Regions from separate parts of the Homo sapiens genome. Here regions 2 and 3 are each linked to region 1. The links are contacts of gene promoters, found by promoter capture Hi-C in blood cells and fetal thymus (Javierre and others, 2016). All regions are on one chromosome and are shown on one strand. The core of a region is centred on a gene start or on the middle of the fragment in contact, and the rest is flanking DNA. Distances in the headings are between cores, read along the strand shown. Region 1 holds the start of WASHC5-AS1 (WASHC5 antisense RNA 1). Region 2 overlaps FAM91A1 (family with sequence similarity 91 member A1). Region 3 overlaps FAM91A1 (family with sequence similarity 91 member A1).

The links. The method cuts DNA at HindIII sites, captures the fragments that hold promoters and counts their contacts. A CHiCAGO score of 5 or more calls a contact.
Region 2: a contact is called between a fragment that was not itself captured here and the fragment with the promoter of WASHC5-AS1 in region 1, in 3 of 17 cell types (M2 macrophages, neutrophils and monocytes). The highest score is 8.5, in M2 macrophages.
Region 3: a contact is called between a fragment that was not itself captured here and the fragment with the promoter of WASHC5-AS1 in region 1, in 2 of 17 cell types (M2 macrophages and monocytes). The highest score is 8.4, in M2 macrophages.

The regions. Positions count from the first base shown.
Region 1 is chr8:125,038,036-125,043,067 of GRCh38, forward strand. WASHC5-AS1 (WASHC5 antisense RNA 1) reads left to right here and starts at 2,649. Exons shown (of 2, transcript NR_170219.1): 1 at 2,649-2,744. It overlaps WASHC5 (WASH complex subunit 5), which reads right to left. Exons shown (of 29, transcript NM_014846.4): 24 at 1,760-1,863; 25 at 795-924. The HindIII fragment of the contact is 6,314 bases long and covers 1-4,080 here.
Region 2 is chr8:123,781,075-123,786,106 of GRCh38, forward strand. It overlaps FAM91A1 (family with sequence similarity 91 member A1), which reads left to right. Exons shown (of 24, transcript NM_144963.4): 9 at 3,396-3,502; 10 at 4,007-4,045; 11 at 4,555-4,667. Among named protein-coding and RNA genes, the nearest start is that of FAM91A1, 15 kb to the left of the region's middle. The HindIII fragment of the contact is 4,765 bases long and covers 725-5,032 here.
Region 3 is chr8:123,799,156-123,804,187 of GRCh38, forward strand. It overlaps FAM91A1 (family with sequence similarity 91 member A1), which reads left to right. Exons shown (of 24, transcript NM_144963.4): 17 at 365-499; 18 at 617-730. Among named protein-coding and RNA genes, the nearest start is that of FAM91A1, 33 kb to the left of the region's middle. The HindIII fragment of the contact is 4,877 bases long and covers 1-4,876 here.

The sequences.
Region 1 (5,032 bases), core at 1,399-3,898:
CATAATGGCGTATTTCATAGGGCTTGTTGTGAGATGAAGTGAGATAATCCACAATCAGGGTTAAGACAGTGCACTTGTTATGCAGTAAATATTCAAGACATTAGCTACTATTCAGGTTTATAATCTTTTATCCAAAACACAAGGGATAATACAGCTTTCAGAATTTCAAATTTTACAGATTTAGAAAGATAATATAGGGGCTGGCGTAATGCACTATAATCAAAGTTACTATAATCAAAGTCTGCATCAAAATATATGAATGTTTACAGTAAGGAGGATAAATAACTAGTATAAACAGCCTTATGTCAGCTCAGGACAGATTTTGCCATGCAAAGAGATCTGGCACCGAGTTATGAAAAAACTTTCAGTTCTTAGAGGTTTTCTGAGCTCACAACTGCAGGGAAGAGTTTGTAGCTTCTATGATGAGTGGGATTACTGTCAGCCACAAGGGGAAGCACCTTTGGCAAGACAGATCAATGCTACCATTTTGGGTTTGTTGGGCCTTGATGACTGAACGGCAAACCCCAGTGAAACCCAAAACTAATCTCTTACACGGAGGCAGCACCTTCCCCTTTGTCATGAGCTTTCACCAGCGCTATAGCACTTGATTCTCACAGACCTGAGCCAGGCGGGGAAAGTGTGATGATTGCTTAGAAAGGGCAGGGAACTGAATGGAATGAAGGCTCTGGGGTCTGAACCCAGGTTCCTCTGGTATTTCTGCACAGTAATCTGTTACCTGGGCCAAATACCATTCTGTACCCCCATCCCCGCCATTATATATTTTAATTACTCACCTTATTCAGTGGGTTGTGAATGCCAGCTGCCTCCAGATAGGCTGTGATTTCATATAAAAGTGTGTTATCTTCTTTGGGGTAAGGAAGTGAAGGGTCCTGATAGTGGGCTTCAATGTCTGCTAGGAGAGCCCTAAAGGAAGAAAAACCCTGGAGATAAACATTAGTGAGTAAATGAATTTATACAAGAGTTAATATAGGGCAGTGATGTAATCTTTTCAAGCCTCAGTTTCCTCATCTGTAAAATGAGAGCTTGATCTCGCTAATTCTCAACCATGCCTGTGATTGGTTTTAAGTGGAAAATTTGACCTAGAATTACTTCATCTTTTGGAATCAACCTCAATCAAATGCATTCACCATTCAAATTTTCATGTATTGACTGAACTGTTCTTAATACCTGCTTTGTCAAAAGCACTGACTTGGTGAGTGAGAAGCACAGATTATTTATCTGTAAGTAGGCAGCCTCAAATGACAGCAGGTTGCTGGTGAGGCGGAGGATATGAGTTCCCTCTAGGACAGGCCTCCATAACCACTCTTGGTAATCAACACACTTCCAACTGCCCTCTGGATGATGAGTGATCAGCCCTGTAAAAAGCCAGTTGCGGATTTTGGTAATAATTGCTTTCTAAAATCTGTGCAAGTATCTAGCAGTGTCTGGTGTGTCTCTCACTCGCTCTCTCTAATGAATTCATTTGTTCAGCAGACATGTATTGAATCATGTGATCAGTACCTGTCTGCTGAATACACGAATCCATTAGAGAGAGTGAGTGAGAGACAGAGATAAACGGAGGGACAATACTGAGGAAAGAGGCTCCGAAGACAGATTTGATTATCCGTGGCAAGGAAGCCTGTAAATTCAGACCTTCCACCCAAAAATAACTTAAAAGAGTAAGAACTGAAGAAACTGGGGTGCGTAGATAATAAACAATCCAAGCCCACGGATGGCTGTTTCAAACCCTGGCACTTACTTATTGAGATTCTCCAGAGCAGCTGCCAGATGTTTAGAATCAAACCGACAAGAATAATTTAATTCATTGGCAATCTGTTGTCTCAGAATCTGCATCTGCCCAACCTGTGCACAAGCAAGAGAAAGAACAGGTAGTGCATTCAAGCATTTCAGAGTGACAGTGAGGAGGTAAACACAAAGATGACAATTCTTCACTGGGCCTTCACATCACTCTACAGGAAAAAAAATAAGGATTTCCTGAACTGATCTCTTGGCTAAGACCAGCACTGGATCTAATGAAGCACCAGAGGCCCTTCAAGGAATGTCTGGATGGATTCCCATACCCCAACCTAAAAATACCCCAAAGTCTATGATTCACAAAGTGATCTATTAATGTTCAGTTGTTCATGTATCAAAGATGTCTTTTTTGAAGCTATATTTTTAACCTTTTGGAATAAGTGCTCCAAATTTAGTAGCTGCTGTGAGAAGTCTTACTTACTTCCTTTTATTTATCCTAAATGGAACTTTCTCAAGCTCTAGGAATGCCATTTCACACTAGTATTCTCAAATTGGGTGAATATTAAGTCTGTCCATGCCACTCAGGATTATAGGTTCTATAATTATCTGGATTACAAAATAATCTACATAAAATCTTTCACGAAAATTTTAACAATGATAGCCCCTTAATCCAGGGTTCTTAATTTTTTTTGTGTGTCTGATATGGTTTGGCTGTGCCCCCACCCAAATTTCATCTTGAATTGTAGTTCCCATAATCCCCATGTGTCATGGGAGGGACCCAGTGGGAGGTAATTGAATTATGGGGGTGGTTACCTCCATACTGTTCTCGTAATAGTGGATGAGTTCTCACGAGATCTGATGGTTTTATAAGAGGCTTTTCTCCTTTTGATTATATTTCTCTTTCCTGTTGCCATGTGAAGAAGGACATGTTTGCTTCCACTTCCACCATGGTTGTAAGTTTCCTGAGGCCTCCACAGCCATGCTGAACTGTGAGTCAATCGAACCTCTTTCCTTTATAAATTACCCAGTCTTGAGTATGTCTTTATTATGTGAGAATTGACTAATATAGCCTTGGACCCCTTTGGGAATCTGGTGAAGCCTATGGACACCATTTCAGAATAACGTTTTTGAATGTACAAAATAAAACATAGAGGGTAACAGTGGAAGCCAGTTGTAATGAAATATAATTAACCATTCAAAGAACAAATCTGTGATATAGAGTTATGCTAGGATGGTGTATTAACTACAGTACTTTAAAAGTAGCTATGAGCATAAATGATACTTGGAGATTATCTGCAATGGTTGGATGATAGGAAGCGATCTTTGGGTCAGGCTTGAGAGTTCAGTTTGCCCTCATAATGTTGTCTGCATCATAAGGTCAACAGCACACTCTAACTTTTTCTGCCTATAAATGTCTTCTTTTCTACTCGGACAAAGTATTCCTAAAAGACTGGCAAAGGGGAGTGAGGGAGGTGGGGAGAGGAGGGAAGACAGTATTATAATGCAAGCAGCAATAAGGTGGAAATAAATGCATTTCCTCTGAGTTGCTGGGGGCAGAGAAGAGTTAAGGAAAAGACAGGGGCTCACGCCTGCAATCCCAGCACTTTGGGAGGCCGAGGCAGGCTGATCGCTTGAGGCTAGGAGTTCGAGACCAAGCCTGGCCAAAATGGTAAAACTCTGTTTCTACTAAAAATAAAAAAATTAGCTGGGTATGGTGGTGGACACCTGTAATCCCAGATACTTGGAAGGCTGAGGTATGAGAAACACTTGAACCCAGGAGGTAGAGGTTGCAGTGAGCCAAGATTGTGCCACTGCACTCCAGCCCAGGCGACAGAGTGAGACTGTCTCAAAAAAAAAAGAAAAGGAGGGTGGCCTTCTCTAAGAATGAGCAAAAGTTACTTAGCTAAATGGAGCTTGTAATGGTCAAAAGTATTAAATGACCTCAGATGTATTATTTTTGACCACTATTCATACAAGACTATTACTCTATTTATGTGAAAAACGTCAATCCAAAAATGCTATTTATAAATAGGAAGTGTTTGAATTTATAGAGTAGCATTATTTAAAAATTAGAATGCAGCAAATCCAAGAAAATAGTAGGTTCTTTCAGGCCACATAAAAATGTCCCTGAAACCCTGTATCTGGCCCATATAATTCTTTGCTTAATTTTCTATGTGTAGTATACTCTGTGTCAAGGATCCTCTTGAAAATATCAATCTAGAACTGGAAATAGAAATAAAGTCAGTTTAATATAACTTGCTCTCGTTTACTGCACAATGAATCTTTGTTAGTGACATTTTCTATTTTTGGTACTCACGCACTTCAAGCTTTAATAAGCTGCTGAAGAGGCTAAGGAGCCTGGGATGGATGAGAAACTTATTCTACCTACTCATTTGCCTCTTTGGAGATATCTGGCTTATCACTCTTTCTCCAAGATTTTTCTAGAGTTGCACTATTGAGTACAGCAGCTCCTAGCGATGTGTGGCTATTTATATTTAAATTAATATGAAATAAAATTAAAAATTGCATTTCACTGTCCCACAACCCACATTTCATGAGCTCAATAGCTACACAGGGCTAGGAGCTGCTGTCATCATCGAATAGCACAGAACATTTCCATTGTTGTTCCAGATTATTAACACTGGCTCCGTGACTGTACGCACCCTAATTCAAGACAAAAAGACAAATTTGTCCTTTGGGGCTTTATTTAAAGATCACTGACTCGGTCACAGTCACGTGGCTGTTACTGAATTACTGGCAACTATAACCAATAGTTGGAATAGCTACTGGACTGAGAACCCTCCAGTAAGCAAGGGGAAAACCTTCCAGTTTCTTGGAAGAATCCCTGTAATCCCCCTAACGCCTCCTACAGAGTTGGGACTCACACCTGTCCAAACTCGGGTGATTCTTTATTCCTCCTAAAGGGTTTTCCAGCAATTAGAAACTTGGCCTGGGAAGCGCTTAATATCTGACAATCATGAGGCTAGGGGAAGGCAGACCCACATCACGAGAGGATATCTAGCAGAGCCATGGGCTCCTTGCCTTACCTGTTCTGTTTAATGATCCAAACAACAACAACAACAACAACCACTCACCAAAATTATGGGAAATATATTGTGAATTTGGCTAAGATACCAATGAGTGCTGTCTCAATGAGAAACTTATATAATTGGGAATCAGAGAATGGAACTTTTCAAAATTCCCTTAGCATTCTAGAATTCTAGACTTTTCTACAGTATGTGATATTTTTGACCACAAACCAGTTTTCTACCAGGAA
Region 2 (5,032 bases), core at 1,857-4,356, 1.3 Mb before region 1:
GTTTTTTTGCCACTACAATACTGATATGTTCAATATCCTTGAATACAGAGTGATGCTTTTTTTTCTATAGGTTAGATTTCTTACCAATTTATAGAAGCACTTACTATGTTCAGGTTATATGTTACAAGTATGTCTTGTGGCATATCTTTTAACTATTGTTCTTGTGTTTTATTATACTTAGATATTGAATATTTGTGTAATCAAATATAAAGTGTCAAAAAATTTCAGAGAATGACCCTAATATTAACAAATTAGTGGTGATAGGGCTTATTACAGAAATACTTCTTTATATCAGTGTTGAATCTTGACAAGATATCATGCTGTAGCGTGTCCAGACCTTTGGGTTGGCATATGTTTGTGATTCTTTAATAACACATTTTAAACCTTGTGCATATGTGAATTTTTTTTTTTTTTTTTTTTTGAGACGGATTCTAGCTCTATCGCCCAGGCTGGAGTGCAGTGGCATGATTTTGGCTCACTGCAACCTCTGCCTCCTGGGTTCAAGCGATTCTCCTGCCTCAGTCTCCCGAATAGCTGGGATTATAGGCACCCACCATCACGTCTGGCTAATTTACTCTACAGGTAAAACCCATAGAGACAGGGTTTCACCATTTTGGCCAGGCCAGTCTTGAACTCCTGACCTCAAGCAATCTGCCCGCCTCGGCCTCCCAAAGTGCTGGGATTACAGGCGTGAGCCACCATGCCCGGCCTGCATCCTATTTTAAGCTTGGAAAGATACCTTAAAAAGTACAGGAAATACTAATTTGCGTTTGTATAGTTGATGCCGTAACAAAATACTAGTTTTAAAATGAGAAAGATTTGACAAGGAAATGATTTCTGAAGACAGAGGTGGCCGTGATTTCCTGTCACAGTTGGAAAATATGAAAGTATTACTCTAGTGCCTACTGTCATCAGATAAGCTGACGTTGATTCATTTGAGATCCACCTATTAATAAAAAGATTAGTCTTTGACTAGTTCATTTCAGTCCAGTTTGACTGTCAGTTTGAACATTGACTCACATTAGAGTAACTTTTAATATTACTTATGGCTAAACTAAATTCATTTGAAAAAAGCAGTCAGAGAAGGGCCAGATGGATGGCTGCCCCATTACATTGATGTGTTCTACCATACTTCACTTAGTAGCTGCTGGTATTTGGTGGTACAGACAGACCCATGGGATGATAATTGCTAAACTTACCCTTGTCACCATGTTACCTCTTTGGCTGTTCCCCAAATTAGAATAAACACATAAAAACAGTTTTGACAACATGGAAGGCATCAAATTCAGTACAAATAATACCTGAATGTGATTTCAAAAGAGGCATTTCAGATACGTTTCAACAACAAAACAAACAAGCACTATGGTTGGTGATATAAATATAAATGGAGATCAGAAATACTTTTAAGGGAGTAATCATGAAAGGCTCTATTATTAAATAAATTTATTCCATTATTCATCAAATTTTCTAACTGTATTTTGTGTGTCTTTTATAGCTTCCTGATTTCTGTTATGCTTGAATGGAATACCTGTAGGATATAGAAATAGTCTGAAAATTCTTGAGAACTTTTGTCGTATATATTTAAATTTGCAGTTTGTTTGGAACTTATTTTCATATTTGATGTGGAATAAGGGTTCAACTTATTTTTCTTCTCTTTGGATAACCAATAGCATTTGGACAAATGCTAGCACTGTTTCAAATTTCTTCATGTAGAGTCACCTTACTCTTTTTGCTTAGATACAAATTTTGGCCTAGGAAAATTTCTAATCTCATAGTGCCTTGGTTTCTTTATCTCTCAAAATAGGGGGTAACTGGCCAAGCACAGTGGCTCACACCTGTAATCCCAGTACTTTGGGAAGCCAAGGTATGAGAATTGCTTGAGCCCTGGAGTTCGAGACCAGCCTGGGCAATATAAAGGGACCCCTTCTCTACAAAAATAAAAATGAAAAGAATTAGTCATGCGTGTTGGCATGTGGCTGTAGTCCCAGCTACTTGGGGGACTGGGGCAAGAGGATTGCTTGAGCCTGGGAGGTCGAAGCTGCAGTAAGCCACAATCCCCACCCTGCATTCCAGCCTAGGTGACAGAGTGAGACCCTGTCTCAATAAATAAATAAATAAATAGATACATTTAAAAATAGGGGTAATTATACTACTGTACAACCCACGGAGTTAGGAGGATTAAATGAAAATGTATATATAAAGTACTTGGTAATAGCCTAGCACTTAGTAAGCATTCAATAAATGCTATTATTATTTACATAGCTGATAGTGTAGGGAAATAATTAATGTTGTCAAAGACGGGATTTCTAAAATATTTCTAAAAAGAAACCATTGATCATTAAAAGTACCTAGATGACTAGAAATATAGGTAGTACTAAATTAGAAAATGACATGAGCCAGATCTGTAAAGTGAATAACCTATCCTCAGATGTATGTACATTGTAGTTTTTCAGTGTCTCAGTTTTGACCATTTGAATTTTGTCTTATTTTTCACTATTAGGAATAATTTAAATTTTTGGGTACAATTAGATGATATTAGGGCCAGGGGACATAAAGATACCCAAATGCTACTATGGCCTAGGCATTCCTCCTTCTCAGGATATTTTCAGGGTGAATGTACCCACAGGGGAGAATGGCAAAGGAAAGCATAGAGCTTGTTTTTTATTGGCTGGGCAGAGCACTTTGGTAAATCAGATTAGAACATTTGGACCAAAGAGATAGAAGTGAGTATGAATGAACATTCAGGTGGAGAGTGATGGTTGGGCTGCCCACTGTGCTAAAGGGGATCTTGACCCTGTTGCCACTGAGGCCCACTGGGGAGGATACCAGAAAAGAAAGCCCCAAAGAACGAGTTAGCCCAGTGACTTCTGGTAAACATGATGGTCATGCAGATGAATTTCCATTTTTAGGATGGAGTAGGGATGATGGGGAGACAGAGCCAATACTTTGCATCCACCTGGTTTTCGTATAGCGTAGCAACTCTTTCTTGCAGTCATTTGCTTTTCAGCTTTGGCCCACTCACCCCTGCTGCCTATGAGGCATCAAAAACACATGTATCAGAAACCCTTTGCAGGCTCCCCCATTCTGAAGCAGCCCCTGTTCCCTCACCCTTCTACCAAGTCCATGTCATCCAGCATTTCTGAGTTACCTGTCTCAGTAACTCTGAGTTCCATGGTGAATTAAATGAACTCTGTGGATTTCGTGTCTACCTTCAGAGTCTTCTCTGTGTACGTATTGTAGAGTTTCAGAAAACTTGCTATGGAGTGGATAAATAAATCAAAAGCTGCATTCAGTCCCTAAGTTAGAGGTTTCTTTTTTTAATTAGATATGTAAATTATACTTTCTTGTTTTATAAAATCTGTACCACTGAGAAAAATCTCTTCTGTTTGTTTTAGTTCCACCTCTTGAAGGTTTTGTAATGAATCGAGTGCAAGGTGATTATTTTGAAACTCTACTCTATAAGATATTTGTTTCAATAGATGAGCACACAAATGTTGCAGAGGTAAGTTTGACAACGTCTCATGAAAATATAATCTCAAGATTGTAAGTTTGTGTAAAGTAAGTAAAGTTATTTAATATGGTAGTATCTTTTTAAAATCTCCATGTGGGGAGATCATACCATTATTACACTTAAATGTCATTATTCTTAACGTTCTTATAAATGTATATTAAAATTTAAGTTAATAATTTATAGTTTGGTTAACTTTTTATATGACTTTTTGTACTAAAGTATTGTAGACTATATTGATCTATCCAGGAATTTTATTTTAAATGAGACGAAATTAAAGAGTAAGGAATCTTAAATTGTTATGGTCACTCCATGGATTTGTACTATAAGGATCTTAGAGATAGGGAAAGAAGAAAGTTCTGAATTCAAAATTTATTCAGTCTTCTAATTATTCATAACTTAAAATTTTGCTGATTATGATTATATTGGTCTATTACAACTGTGTAATGTGCTGTTAATTCTAAGAATGTAAAAATAAATTTTAATTTTATCTTCTAGCTTGCAAATGTCCTTGAGATTGACTTATCCCTGGTTAAGGTATGTTATTTTTATACTCATTTACTGGTGATGTGATAACTGAGTGGATTTTACTAGTAGATTTTTATCTTGATAAGCTACTGAGAAACGAAGACATTGAGATTGTTGTTAGCTGTCTGAGAGAACGTGCACAGTAAAGGGGCACTTGCAAAGACAGGAAAGAGCAGGAAAAGGGGCCCTAAATTGGGATTCAAACACATGGACTGAAAAGAGAGCACTCATGCAAGAAGCAGCCCAAGCAGTATCTTGTAGTGAGGTCCGTTAAAGCAACAACTCCTGCTTCATTAGGGGTAGATGTAGGGAGGGCAAGGCCAGAGAGTTGGAAACATTCCCTCCTATACATTTATGAAGACTTCAAGGGAGGAGCAGGTCTACTGAAAATAGTTTCTGGTTACGGGATGAAAATGTTTGAGAATCACTATTAGTCTATTACACTATTTTTTCTCTACAAATATTGTGATGTCTAGTTTATTTTAAATGGTAATTAGTTTCCTTTATATTCCTTTCAGAATGCTGTTTCAATGTATTGCCGATTGGGCTTTGCCCATAAGAAGGGACAAGTAATTAATTTGGATCAACTTCATTCATCATGGAAGAATGTTCCATCCGTAAACAGATTAAAGTAACTTAAATTTATTCAGTATGAGCTATTAGAGTTTCCTTTTGAAAAGACATTTAATTTTACATACATAAATTTATTTATTTATTTATTTATTGAGACAAAGTCTCTCTCTGTCATCCAGGCTGGAGTGCGGTGGCGCGATCTCGGCTCACTGCAACCTCCACCTCCCCGTTTCAAGCGATTTTCATGCCTCAGCCTCCTGAGTAGTGGGGACTATAGGTGTGCACCACCATGCCCAGCTAATTTTTTGTGTTTCTGTTAGAGGTGGGGTTTCACCATGTTAGCCAGGCTGGTGTCGAACTCCTGGCCCCAACTGATCCACCCACCTTGGCCTTCCAAAGTGTTGGGATTGCAGGTGTGAGCCA
Region 3 (5,032 bases), core at 1,188-3,687, 1.2 Mb before region 1:
GCTTTTTGAACAACCTTACAACATCCTCTTGAGGTAGATTCTTTATTGCTATTTTATAGATTGAGCAAAATGAGGCACAGAGAGCTTAAGTAACCTTCCTGAGGTGATATGGCTGGAAGGGCAAAACCAAGATTCCAAACTAGGCAGTCTTCTCCAGAGTGCATTCTCTTAATTGCAGTGACAAGACATAATTTCTTAATTCCAGTATAAAATTGAAACTATTTTAATGAAACATTTAAAGTTATTTTCTTGAGGATAGTTGCAGTTAACATTTATGTGAAGGGATTTGCTGTTTATAAGACTGTTCTCGGTCACTTATGTAACACTTTATTTTAACTTTATCTTAACTGTTTTATGATTGTAGCATATTGGACCAGCTATCCCAGAAGTCAGCTCTGTCTGGTTTAAACTGTACATTTATCATGTCACTGGACAAGGACCACCATCCCTTTTATTGTCCAAAGGTACAAGACTTCGAAAACTGCCAGATATATTTCAGGTATGTGTGGGAGGTTTGGGTGGTTTTTTTATGTGTGTGTGAGCAGTATGCTAGATAATTTCTTAATATTTTCCTTATTTCTGAATGCCATTTTACCTGTTAATTTCTTTTCAATAGAGTTATGATCGATTGCTAATAACATCTTGGGGTCATGATCCTGGAGTAGTTCCTACCTCAAATGTGCTCACGATGTTGAATGATGCTTTAACACATTCTGCAGTTTTAATTCAGGTACATTTATCTTATTTGAAATTTTGTCTTTTTATTATAAAGTTGATAATTTTTCTAGCTTTCTATATTGAGTTGCAATAAAATGTCAGTCATTTGAAATTTATGAAGTTGAAATGTAAAAAATCAGAGATATGGATTTTAGTCCTGGCCGTTTGGCAGTGTGGGAGTGGTAGAAATAACATGAACTTTGAAGTTAGACCCAGGTTTGCATTGCAGCCTCACCTGCTTGCTGCGTGACCATGATTTTTTTTATTTTTTTTTAAATAATAGCTTTACAGTAGTTTCCCCATCTGTGGGGAATATGTTCCAAGACCCCCAGGGGTTGCCTGAAACCACCAGTAGTACCCAACCCTATATATAGTACGTGTTTTCCTATATGTATATATATATATATAAATACCTGGGATAAAGTTTCATTTATAAATTAGACATCTCTTACTAGAGATTAACAACAATTACTAATAAGAAAATAGCATACTGTAATATAAGTTATATGAATGTGGTCTCTCTCAAAATACCTCGTTATACTATACTCACCTATTTTCAGACCTTGGTTGACCACAGATGATAACTAAAACCATGGAAAGCAAAACCTCACATAAAAGGGGACTATTGTATTGAGTATATAATTCACATACTGTACAATTCACCAATTTAAATTGTGCAGTTAAGTGGGTTTTAGTGTGTTCACAGATATGTACAGCCATCACCACACTCAATTTTAGAACATTTCATTACCTTAAAAAGAAACCTTGTATCCTTTAGTGATCACTCTTCTATTTTCTCCCCGCTACTCATCTCCTTCCCTCTAGTCTTAAGCAACACTAATCTACTTGTTGTCTCTATAGATTTGCCGAATCTGGGCATTTATGTGAATGGAATCATATATAATATGTGGTCTTTTGTGACTGGCTTCCTTCATTTAACATAATGTTTTCAAGGTTCATCATGTTGTCATAGTATCAATACTTCATTCCTTTTTGAGGCCAAATAATGTTCCATTTTATGGATATGCCACATTTTGTTTATTCCTCCATCAGTTGATGGACATGTGGGTTGTTTTCACCTTTTGGCCATTATGAAGAATGCTGTCATAAACATTTGTGTACAAGTTTTTCTGTGGACATATGTTTTTATTTCTCTTGGCTATATATGTATAGGGATGGAATTACTGGGTCATATGGTAATTCCATGTTTAAGCATTTAAGGAACTGCCAGACTGTCTTGCAAAGTGGCTGCATCATTTTACATTCTCACGGGCACTTGATATTATGTGGCTTTTTGATGATAACCACCTTAGGAGGTGTGGAATGGTATCTCATTATAGTTTTGATTTACATTTTCCCGAAGACTAATAATGTTGAGCTTCTTTGCATGTGCTTATTGGGCTGTGTGACATTTTCATGATAAACCTTATACTTTATTTCCCACCTATAAAATGGAGATGGCAATATCTATTGTATAATAACAAACACTTATAATAATGGCAACTAGTGGTAAGGTAAGCAGTTTATGCTCATAGAATTGAGAGAATGAAATGAAAATGTACGTGTCAAATGTGTAGCACACTTGCTGGCACATAATAGGTTCTCCGTAAAGATTTCGTCAGTTCATCTAACAATTGAATGTGCATATTTTGCGCTAATTAATATCAATATGCAAATAAGACAGGGCCCCTCATCTTCAAGGAATTTAAGGATGGTGGGAAAAGCTGCATAAGCACTCAGTTTCAGTTTATCGAATAGAATTACATATAGTGGAAGACTTAAAAAGAACTATCCAGTCCAGCCTTGGGGCAAGGAGAAGGGCTTAGGGGAGGTTCCTTAGAGAAAGTGAGACCCAGGCTGAATACAAAAGGATGACTTAAAAGAAGCGAGGTAGTAGGGGTCAGCATGATTAAATCTCTGGGCAAGGATTTTTTTTTTTTTCTTTTTTCTTTGCTGCTATTTTTCTAGTGCCCAGCACGGTGCTTGGGTCATAGTAGTTGTCCAGTTAGTGTTTGTGGAATAAATAAATAAGAATATGAAGTGACATAACATGCCAGGGTCAATAAGCTGTTCAGTGTTTTTGAGGGGTGAGTTGGAGTGTGAGGGGGTTGTGGTCAGAGACAAGTCTGGAGAAGTAGGCTGGCCCTGCAGTGCCGCCTGCCTTGAGTGTCCTGCCGTGGAACTGAGAAGTTGACCTGTAGATTGATGGTAGCAATTACAGGGGGGTAACAGGGATTAACATGGTCAAATTTGTTTCAGGAATCAACCTTGGGATGATATTGAGAATGGGAGGGAGTGGGGAGACACCTGAAGCAAGAAGACCAGTTAGGACTGTGTGTAGTAGTTTAGATAAGAGATAAAGATAGCCCGGATCAAGGACATGGTAATAAGAATTGAAAGGAAAAATGGATTTAAGAACTACTACAAATATACAATTAATAGAATTGATCAGATATCTGAGAGAGATGGGAAGAGGGAAGAAAGATTCTGGGGTATTTGACTTGTGAAGGTAGAAGGGTGGTGATACCACTACTGTAGGGAACATAGGAGGAAGTGACATCACAGGAGGTGGTGATATCACTACTCTAGGGAACACGGGAGGAAGTGATATCATGGGAGGTGGTGATACCACTACTCTGGGGAACACGGGAGGAAGAGCACATTTATGGGGCAGATGATGTGTTGTGTTTATATGGTGCCTGTGGTAATTGGAAATATTCTGAAATTCAAATGAGAGGTTAGACAAGAGTGATTAAGTGTCAGCATCAGGTGGTAGATGGTAGTTGAAACCATGAGAGGATGAAATTAGCCAGGGAAGATATATAGTATGGGGTGGTCGTGGGAGATAGCATCATAGAATGGGCTAGACATGGACTTAAGTCAGACTGCCTAAACTCAGATCTTGGTTCCATCATTTACTAGTAATCTTAGACAAGTTAAATACCTTTTTGAACTTTAGTGTCTTTACCTATAAACTGGAGATAAAGTTCCCATCTTTTTAAAGTTTTTGAAAAGAATGACTTGAGCACTGTGTTTAGCACATAGGAAGATCTCAGAAAACGTTATTGTGTTGGTAGTGGCAGTAGAAGTAGAGTGAAGGAACAGTGGGTGATTCCACGAGCTTCAGTTTTCCTTACCTTTAAAATGAAGGGTGGCTGGGTGCAGTGGCTCACGCCTGTAATTCCAGCACTTTGGAAGGCTGAGGTGAATTGCTTGAGCCCAGAAGTTGGAGACCAACTTGGATAACATAGTGAAACCCTGTCTTAATTTATAGTAACAAATCTTTCTTGAATAAAGTAAAATGAGAGAGGTGGTTTCCAAGGTCTTTTCTGTAGGTGGTACTCTGTAGATCAAGCTAAGTTAGGTTTTTTTTTTTTTTGGATGGGGGCTAGTGCAAAATATGGATAGAAAAACAAATCAGCAGACAGTACCTGTTTTTATTTATTTATTGTTTTGAGACACGGTCTCACTCTGTCACCCAGGCTGAAGTCCGTGGCATGATCACAGCTCACTGCAGCCTCGACTTCCCCTGGGCACAAGAGATCCTCCTGCCTTAGCCTCCAGAGTAGCTGGGACTACAAGCTCACGCCACCATGCCTGGCTAATTTTTTATAGAGACAGGGTTTCACCATGTTGCCCAGGCTGGTCTCAAACTCCTGGGCTCAAGTGATCTGCCCGCCTTGACCTCCAAAAGTGCTGGGATTACAGGTGTGAGCCACCACACCAGGCTGACAGTACTGTTTTTAAAGTGTTTGTTAAGGAGTTTTGCTTTTGCTAAAGAAAAATGCCTTTTTAATTAAATTTGATGGAAATAAATTTACCTTATTGGAATTTAAACGTGTTACAAATTAAGATTTTTGGTTAAAACCATAATTTATTTTAGCCATCAGGTTTAGGAAATAAAAGAGAGCTCTCAGAAATATATTTAAATAGTTATATGAAACAACAAAAAGAGTATGCTTTCCTTTGGATATATCAGGGTTTCTTGAATTTGAATAATGTATGGGTCTCTCTTAAAGGGAAGAATTTGGAGATCCTCAGTATTAAATTTCTATTGTAACAGTTCTAAATACATGTAGACATAATGTTAAGTTCTTCATGCTTCTTGTTATTACACAACTACAAATTCAAATCAAATTTTGGAATTAAATATAAGCAAAGCTTTAAAACAAAACTCAAATGAACAATATTAATTGAATGTGATAGATGAAACTGAATTATCATTTGTAACATGAGAGTGAAGTGGGTAGACTCAGATTTTTTAAATTTAATTTTTGAACTAATAGTACATTCACATGATTCAAAAATAAAACGT